3 separate regions of the Homo sapiens genome follow, and regions 1 and 2 are each linked to region 3. The links are contacts of gene promoters, found by promoter capture Hi-C in blood cells and fetal thymus (Javierre and others, 2016). All regions are on one chromosome and are shown on one strand. Each heading gives the region's core, a stretch centred on a gene start or on the middle of the fragment in contact. The rest is flanking DNA. Distances are from core to core; before and after follow the strand shown. Region 1 holds the start of JOSD1 (Josephin domain containing 1). Region 2 overlaps FAM83F (family with sequence similarity 83 member F). Region 3 holds the start of RPL3 (ribosomal protein L3).

The links. The method cuts DNA at HindIII sites, captures the fragments that hold promoters and counts their contacts. A CHiCAGO score of 5 or more calls a contact.
Region 1: a contact is called between the fragment with the promoter of JOSD1 here and the fragment with the promoter of RPL3 in region 3, in 11 of 17 cell types (naive CD8 T cells, fetal thymus, neutrophils and 8 more). The highest score is 9.4, in naive CD8 T cells.
Region 2: a contact is called between a fragment that was not itself captured here and the fragment with the promoter of RPL3 in region 3, in 5 of 17 cell types (naive B cells, total B cells, M2 macrophages and 2 more). The highest score is 8.5, in naive B cells.

The regions. Positions count from the first base shown.
Region 1 is chr22:38,699,653-38,702,352 of GRCh38, reverse strand. JOSD1 (Josephin domain containing 1) reads left to right here and starts at 1,410. Exons shown (of 5, transcript NM_001360236.2): 1 at 1,410-1,553; 2 at 1,735-2,550. The coding sequence starts at 2,366. RefSeq lists a silencer at 944-1,903. The HindIII fragment of the contact is 4,284 bases long and covers 1-2,299 here.
Region 2 is chr22:40,038,803-40,041,502 of GRCh38, reverse strand. FAM83F (family with sequence similarity 83 member F) reads right to left here. Exons shown (of 5, transcript NM_138435.4): 5 at 1-2,700. Among named protein-coding and RNA genes, the nearest start is that of TNRC6B-DT, 4.4 kb to the left of the region's middle. The HindIII fragment of the contact is 1,321 bases long and covers 679-1,999 here.
Region 3 is chr22:39,318,196-39,320,895 of GRCh38, reverse strand. It overlaps RPL3 (ribosomal protein L3), which reads left to right and starts at 1,273. Exons shown (of 10, transcript NM_000967.4): 1 at 1,273-1,301; 2 at 2,304-2,496. The coding sequence starts at 1,299. It overlaps SNORD43 (small nucleolar RNA, C/D box 43), which reads left to right and starts at 1,783; the gene lies at 1,783-1,844. RefSeq lists enhancers at 1-504, 669-1,088, 505-1,394, 1,479-1,528, 1,395-2,284. The HindIII fragment of the contact is 13,460 bases long and covers 1-1,700 here.

The sequences.
Region 1 (2,700 bases), core at 161-2,660, 620 kb after region 3:
ATTAGCCGTGCGTAGTGGCAGGAGCCTGTAATCCCAGCTACGCGGGAGGCTGAGACATGAGAATCGCTTGAGTCCAGGAGGTGAAGGTTGCAGTAAGCCGAGATCGCCCCGTTGCAATTCAGCCTGGGCGACAAAAGTTAAACTCCATCTTAAAAAAAAAAAAAAAAAAAAAGGCCGGGCACGGTGGCTCACTTCTGTAATCCCAACACCTTGGGAGGCCAAGGCGGGTGGATCACCTGAGGTCGGGAGTTCGAGACCAGCCTGACCAACATGAAGAAACCCCTCTACTAAACACACAAAATTAGCCGGGCGTGGTGGCGCATGCCTGCAATCCCAGCTACTCGGGAGGCTGAGGCAGGAGAATTGCTTGAACCCGGGAGGCGGACGTTGCGGTGAGCGGAGATCATGCCATTGCACTCCAGTCTGGGCAACAAGAGCGAAACTCCGTCTCCAAAAAACAAAACAAAACAACTAAATTTGAAGTGCAACAGTTTCTTCTCGTTTTTCCAGTTTTACAGAAAACCCAAAAGAAGGGCAGCTAAGGTGGATAATGATGCCTACCACGCACCCTAAGAGTAGGTAAAGGGGAAAAAATGAAATCCACGTGGGACTGCGAGTAGTTTTCGCCTTTTCCCGAAGACGCACACAATGCGCTTAGGTATACCTCGCGCAGAGGTCTCTGCAGAGAGGAAAGCCACCGTGAGAAGAGCGGGGAGCCCCCAGGCAAGAAGGCAGTGGCTTGTGTGTAGTGAACCGAAATGCGACACCAAGGAACTGCAACAGGATTCTCCTTTCCACTTGAAATGTGACTCCCAGCGAGACACCTACCCTTGACGCTCCCTGGACAGTGCGGCACGGTCGGGCCCACTAACCAAGGCAATTTGCGCCCGACCGAATCAGGTGCTTCAAAATCCCCCCTGGTGAGCCGCGCGTTAACCACACATAAAACAGTCAACGCAGAAGGAGCGAGAACGTTCGGCCGAAAAGCCCGGCACAGAGAAGGGAGGGGTGCTGAAAGCCGCGGACTGCAGCCGCTGGCCTGGCTGCCGCCCCGAAACAACGCCCACGCCCGGGAGAAGGGCAGGCTGGCGTCCAGGTAGGACTCCCTCAGGCCGCCCCGCCAGGGGCCGCGCCGAGCGGAGCGGCTGGACCCCAACCCTGCCGGCCGCCGCCGAGGTGCGCAGCCCGCAGCCCCACACCCACGGCCTTTGCAACACCCCAACCGTTGAACTGCGCCCCTACACGCCCGGCGTCTGCGGCTCCCAGGCCGGTGCCGATGACGTCAGACTTACGTCAGGCGTGACGCCACGGCTGGGAGGAGTGAGGACGGCGCGGGAGGGCGTTTCCGGAGCACGCGCCGGGCGGGGGCCGCTGACGTCGGGCTCAGGTGCGCGCGCCCGCCCGCACGGCCCAGTTGGCGGCGCGCACTCCAGGTGGCGGCCGGCTGCGGTGAGGGGACCGCCAGCGGCGAGCAGTCCCGGCGGCCCTGGGGTCTGCGGCCGGGGGCGCGGCGGGAGGGCGTCTGGGCCTGCGCTCACGTGACGGGCGGGGAGGTTTGTGTAGGGGCTGCGAGCCGGGTGGGCGCGGGCCCGGGAGCGCGAGGCTGACTGTCCGGCCCCACCCCTCGCGGGCCAGCCCTTCGCCGCGCGGAACCTTCCCTCGGGCAGGGGCCGGCCCCGCCGCTCACTTCCCGCGCCCGCTCGCCGCTGACCGGAGTTGTCTCCTCCTCCGCAGGGCCGCGGCCAGAGGGCTAGAATCCGCGCCTTCCGAGGGAGCCGCGCCCTGCGGGCCCCACCGTACCCGAGGGGATGGAGGGCTGCCCCCGAGGCCCCCGCGCGGCTCGCGGTCCCACGCCTGCCGGCCCGCGCTAGCTACTCGACTCGTGCGCTAAATTTATCCGTCACCCAGGCCTTGTCTCCCGAGTCATTGGCGTCGTGGTTCAAAAGAAATGGAAGAAAAGGAGCGATGTGACCGATTGTGTTCGGTCCTCCTGCTTTGAGGCCTGGCATTTGCAGAGGGAAACAGCAAGAAAATCGTGGGGATTTTGGAGGGGGGTGGGAGGGAAGGGTGGGGAAACGGAAACAAGGTCTTACATTTTATGTGTTTTTTTAAATTCTGCACTTTGACAGTGGTAGCAAAATAAAAGTAATCCAAAAGTTATTTTTCTATTGAGAAGAGAGAAGAGGTGGGTTTTATTTTTTTCCTTTTGATTCCAATCTTTTCTCCCAGTGACAAAGCATAAATCATGGACACCAGAGAATAAGGTGGACCTCAGGAATCCGGAAAAGACTGAGAAGCTTACATTCTTCCTCTAGAGGGAAGAGTGGGGTGTTTATAGCCATCTCTGGAACCTAAAACAAAAAACATGAGTTGTGTGCCATGGAAAGGAGACAAGGCCAAATCTGAATCATTGGAGCTGCCCCAGGCAGCACCCCCACAAATCTACCATGAGAAACAGCGCAGGGAGCTTTGTGCCCTCCACGCCCTCAATAACGTCTTCCAGGACAGCAATGCCTTCACCCGGGATACGCTGCAAGAGATTTTCCAGAGGTAGGGGACCCTTCTCCTTGGCATCTTGATACTGATATTTCTGGATTTCTGTGGGTGGGGCAGTGTCTCAGCTTCATAAACCTTCAAAGCTGTAGGTATTAGCTAGATTGCGTTAGCAGGTATAAGGGACACAAGACATGAAAAGATAAT
Region 2 (2,700 bases), core at 90-2,589, 720 kb before region 3:
CTCAGCCTGGTGTGAATGTTAAGCCAATGATTGGGGTGAGGGCGTCTGCCCTGTAGGGCTTACAGGCATGCCTTGGTGCCTGCGGAATCAACTCATACCCTGAAAAGGCAGCCCAGGTCAGAGAATGCTATGCCAGGGTGCTCTCTTGTGCTTGCTCTCATTTCCTCTCTGCATGCTACTTGGGGAAAATATTTTTCTGTTTGTTTGTTCCAACCCACCCAGCTTTCAGAGTAAAAAGACTCGTTAAGCCCTGCACACTTGTATGCAGGCCAAGTGCACTATGTTCTTGGAGCGCTGTGCTATTCTTAGCGCTCTATATGTGGTGTTCTATACAGTTGGCTTTTTGCTGGAGGGGAAGGCAGATTTCATGAGTGATAGCTGCCTTGGCTGGCTACCAAAAGTGCTCTGAGCCATCTCAAGCAACAGGCCTTCCTTTTTTCCCTTGAGAGGTTGTGTTGTGATCCCTGCCCTCGGCTTGGACAAATTCCAAGGCAATGGGAATTTTTGTGAACAATTCTGCAATAACCCACAAGCTGGGGGAAGGGGGGATAGCAAGCTGGATCTGCTCCAGCTCTAATTTCTGTGACACAGAAGAACTCCTTCCGCCCTTTGCACTGGCCCCTCATAGCTATGAAGAATTTGGAAGTGTTCATTAAGCATTCTCCAATTCTTGAAGCTTATAACAATGGGAAGATCCCTGTAAAGGAATCTGATCCAAAAGACAAGGGGACAGCTGACAGCTGATACTGCTTGCTTGGGCAGTGGGTGTAGCCATTGCCAAAGACCAAGAGCAATGAGGCAGGGAAACTCTCTAAAGAGGGCTGATTACAGAGGGCATGCTTATAAGCATTTATTGCATGTCTGGGAGCATTTACTGTGCAACACATCCCTTGTGTCTGTCTCACCTTCTAAATCACCTATCATTTTTTATGACCACACTTCCTGAGAAGCTACTTAGTTAAGCAGCAAACACTGGACCCCCTCATGTGTGCTGGCCAATGCTAGACACACAGGAGGCAGCTCACAAGAGAACCAGGATTATGGTTAATAATAACTACCCTTTGGTGGACACTTGCTGTGTGTCATACACTGTACTGAGGGCTTTACGTGGATTATGGCTGTTAATCTTCACAACAACCATTGTTATCCACATTTTCTAGATAGGAAAATGGAGGCACTGAAGGGCTAACTAACCCATCGTTGAACCTAGGCGGTCTGACTCCAACGAGTAAGCTCTTGTCCACGCTGCTATATTGCCTCTGGGATGTCTGACTTGGGAACCCCACAGTGCAGCTGGGGAGATGACCAGCCCTCAATGAACAGTTGTCCTCGTAGTCTTTAGTATCTCAGCCCCATCCTCTTTACCCCCTATAAACTCAAGGAAAGAAATACACCTCTTTCCGGCTAAATTACTGCCTCTGGTGGTCCTTCCTCCACGTCCCAACTGAGATCTGGCTTTTCTCCCACTCCCTTCAAATAGCTTCCTTCCCTTTCTTCTCTATTTTCTTATCCTAGCTTTTTAAATAATGGCCTGCGGCCATCTCCACCACCAGGAATGCTCTCTCGTTTTCTCTCTCTGAACCTGGCTTCTAGCCCTAACTCTACTGAAATTCATTTCTCTAAGCTCATCTATAACCTTTTTGTGGCCAAGATCCAAGAGACTTTCTCAGTCCTTGTTTCCATGGCTTCACCAATACGTTTTACTCTGAGAATCTTTTCTTTGCTTCCCCAAATAGCCAGCTTTCCTCCTACCTCTACAACTGTTCATGCTCTTTTCCCTACCATCTCTTTCTCTAAGCTCCTTCAAAGGAATCTGTCTGCACTTCTCTCCTTATGTTGTCTCTGGGGGCGTGCGACGCTCGCAGGACTCAGCAAGCTCAGCTGGGTCATTATCCTACTTTCACCTCTAAGATGAGAATTCTATCTCTCCATCTCCACCCTTCATTCTGCAGCTTGTTTGCTGCGTGACTTTTTGCAAGTCACACAAACTATCTAAGCTTCAGTTTCCTCGTTTCTAAAATGAATATATTGAATCGGATTTGTTATTCTCCACCTAAGATAATGATAAAACCTAACATTTTAACCCACATACCAGGCCAGGCGTAGTGGTTCATGCCTGTAATCCTCCCAGCACTTTGGGAGGCAGAGGCAGGTGGATCATGGAAGTCAGAGGTTCAAGACCAGGCTGGCCAAAATGGCAAAACCTCATCTCTACTAAAAATACAAAAATTAGCTGGGTATGGTGGCGCGCACCTGTAATCCCAGCTACTCAGGAGGCTGAGGCAGGAGAACTGCTTCAACCTGGGAGGTGGAGGTTGCAGTGAGCTGAGATCGCGCCACTGCACTCAAGCCTGGGCAACAAAGGGAGACTCCATCTCAAATTAAAAAAACTGCATACTATGCCAGGCAGGACTAAGTGGAAAATGAAAGCATGGGGTTCTGTGTTCACAGGTTTCATGCCCATGAAGCCAGCTCTAGTACCAGCCTCTGCTCCAAGCATTGTATATGTATGAGCTTATTCAGTCCTCATAGTAACTTTCTGAGGTAGATACAGATGAAGAAAGTAAGGCAGAGATAGGTTAAGCAGTTGCCCAAGGTCAGTTTTTAATTGGTAGAATTGAGGAAAATAACACTTGCCTGTTGGGGCTGTTGTGAGACTCACGGGTGCAGGTGCATAGGGAAGGCTGGTTCCTGTCCAGG
Region 3 (2,700 bases), core at 24-2,523:
GGATTACAGGCGTGAGCCACCGCGCCTGGCCGAGAGAATGCTTTTCAAACGACGGTGGGAGCAAAGGCCAGGCCCAGAATTAAAGAAGATGACAGGGTGGGACAGAGGAAGCAGGTGATATGAGAGCGTGTGCTCTGGCGCAGCCATGAGGCTGAAGTAGACGGTTAGGGGAGCGTCTTTGGTGGCCGCTGAAGTTGATGCTTAATTCCGAGGAAACAACGAGGCGGCCATGGAAAGTAACGAGATACTTGATTCTTAGAAAGATTTGTAGGGGGCCAGGCGCGGTGGCTCACACCTGTAATCCCAGCACTTTGGGAGGCCGAGGCGGGCGGATCACGAGATCAGGAGTTCAAGACCAGCCTGGCCAACATGGTGAAACACCGTCTCCACTAAAAATACAAAAAAAAAAAAAAAAAAAATTAGCCAGGCATGGTGGCGCATTCCTGTAATCCCAGCTACTCGGGAGGCTGAGGCAGGAGAACTGCTTGAACTGGGAACCGGTAGGCGGAGCTTGCAGTGAGCTGAGATCGCGCCACTGCGACAGAGCGAGACTCCGTCTCAAAAAAGAGATTTGTAAGGGACCAGCCTGGAAGCAGGGAATCGGTCAGGATCCGAGTCACCCTGGAGCCTAGGCAGAGATCAGCGAAAGCCCTCGCTGATGCATAGGTCTGGAAGGCGTGGGGCTCCGGGAGGCTGAGCAGCTGGACTCGGCATGACCAGAGGTCGTGAGGCCGTTCCGCAGGCTTGGGACGCTCCTGACCCTCAGAATCAAGCGCGGGCCACTGCATTAGCATGGGAGAAATGGCAGAGATAGGGCTTGAGGGAGGGATGCCCGAGATTAAAGGTATTAAAGGTAAATTGGTGTCGCCGCAAAACCAGCGTGGGAGCCAGGAAACGAGAGTTTCAGTCTTTCTTCGCTAATTCCAGAGATAGCTGCATATCACAGGAGGAGAAGCGACGCAGCCATTTTTCTTCGTTATTATCAAATTTGGCTGCTGCCGGACGCCGTAGATTTGTGGCTCACCCACCCTTAGCCCACCTCTCCGCGGCTTTTCACTAAGTTTGAACCCGACCCCTCGCCGTAGAGTGTGTAATTTCTGTCTCCGAAGCTGACGTCAACTTCTGAACGAAAGCTAGGAGCGGAAGAGCGTGCGTGGAAATGGCGCTCGGTACGTGCCCCCGACCTGTCGTCTGCCGCGGGGGCGCGCTCGCACGCCGGAAGGGGCGGGGCCAGATTTGGCTTTATATAGCGGACCCGTAAGGCCGACCGGCCTCTACCGGCGGGATTTGATGGCGTGATGGTATGTGTTGTAATGGCGGCCGTTTCATTGTCACCGGCGTCGGCACGGCTGAATCCGCGACGCATCGCCGCCATCCCGTCTTGGCCGGCGCCGGGGGTTTGCTTTAGGGGCACGGGCGACCCAGCGGGGACTTCAGTCTGGCCTATTTTCTGGAAAGTCGAGAGGCTTGTGAAGAGCGCTTGGAGGACTGGCTTTGGGCCTGCAGGTCGGCCAGAGAGAGGCCGTAAGGGTGGGAGCAGGCTTGGAGGCCCGGCGTTTTTAAAGCCATGAGTCATTTCTAAGTTTCGACCTCACCAATTCTATCATTAGTTGGGATTAGGGCCCATAACCTGCTTGTCTGGGTAGAAGGACCTTGGGTGGAGGTTCTCGGCGCCGTTCTCATTGGGAGGTAAAGAAGCTTGGGGGAGGGGAGTGTTGTGGAGTCCTCCTGAATATCTGGGGCCGCTGGTGCACTCCGAAGGCCTCTGGAGCTCGCAGAAACCACAGATGATGAACTTATTGACGGGCGGACAGAAACTGTGTGCTGATTGTCACGTTCTGATTTGGCTCTGCGGAGTTCTTTGGCCTGTGTGTATCAGTGTAATTAGTGTCCGGGCACCGGAGGCAGCCTATAGCTTAACATTGCTAGCTGCTACCCAGCGTTTGTCCCGGGAGTCCCTTTCTTTAGCGGTCAAAACCTTGCTAATTGGCATATAAAGCTGCCTGTTAAGCAGTTTTTAGTGCCACTACTTAGTGTATTTTTGTGTGGTTAGATAAAAAAAATGGGTCGTTTTCTTACAGGTTGAGAGGATTTGAAATAAGATTCAGCTTAAATTTTGTCGAATACAAAAGCATTCTTGACACGTGCGAGCCTGGAAGAGATAATGACCTTTTTATTCGGCTTGCTGGGTGTCTGGTCAGGATTCTTCAGTATTGCTGAGATTTGGAACTTAAGCAGCTGGGAACTAGAGAAGGGGGCACTGCTTTGGTTTGGGTGCTGACGGTGATTTTTTTCCCACCTAGTCTCACAGAAAGTTCTCCGCTCCCAGACATGGGTCCCTCGGCTTCCTGCCTCGGAAGCGCAGCAGCAGGCATCGTGGGAAGGTGAAGAGCTTCCCTAAGGATGACCCGTCCAAGCCGGTCCACCTCACAGCCTTCCTGGGATACAAGGCTGGCATGACTCACATCGTGCGGGAAGTCGACAGGCCGGGATCCAGTATGTACAGACATCCTAAAAGTTGGGGGAATAGGAGTGGAGGGGGAGGGAAATTGTAGAGATGGAGTCAAGCTGTTAGCAGAGGGCAGACTTTTTTTTTTAAGCAGGAGTTACACGTTGTCAGAACTGCTGCGACAGCAGAATGGGAATGCTTAACTTGAAAACTAATATTCCAAGGCTACAGATGGTCAGCACTGTTTGCTT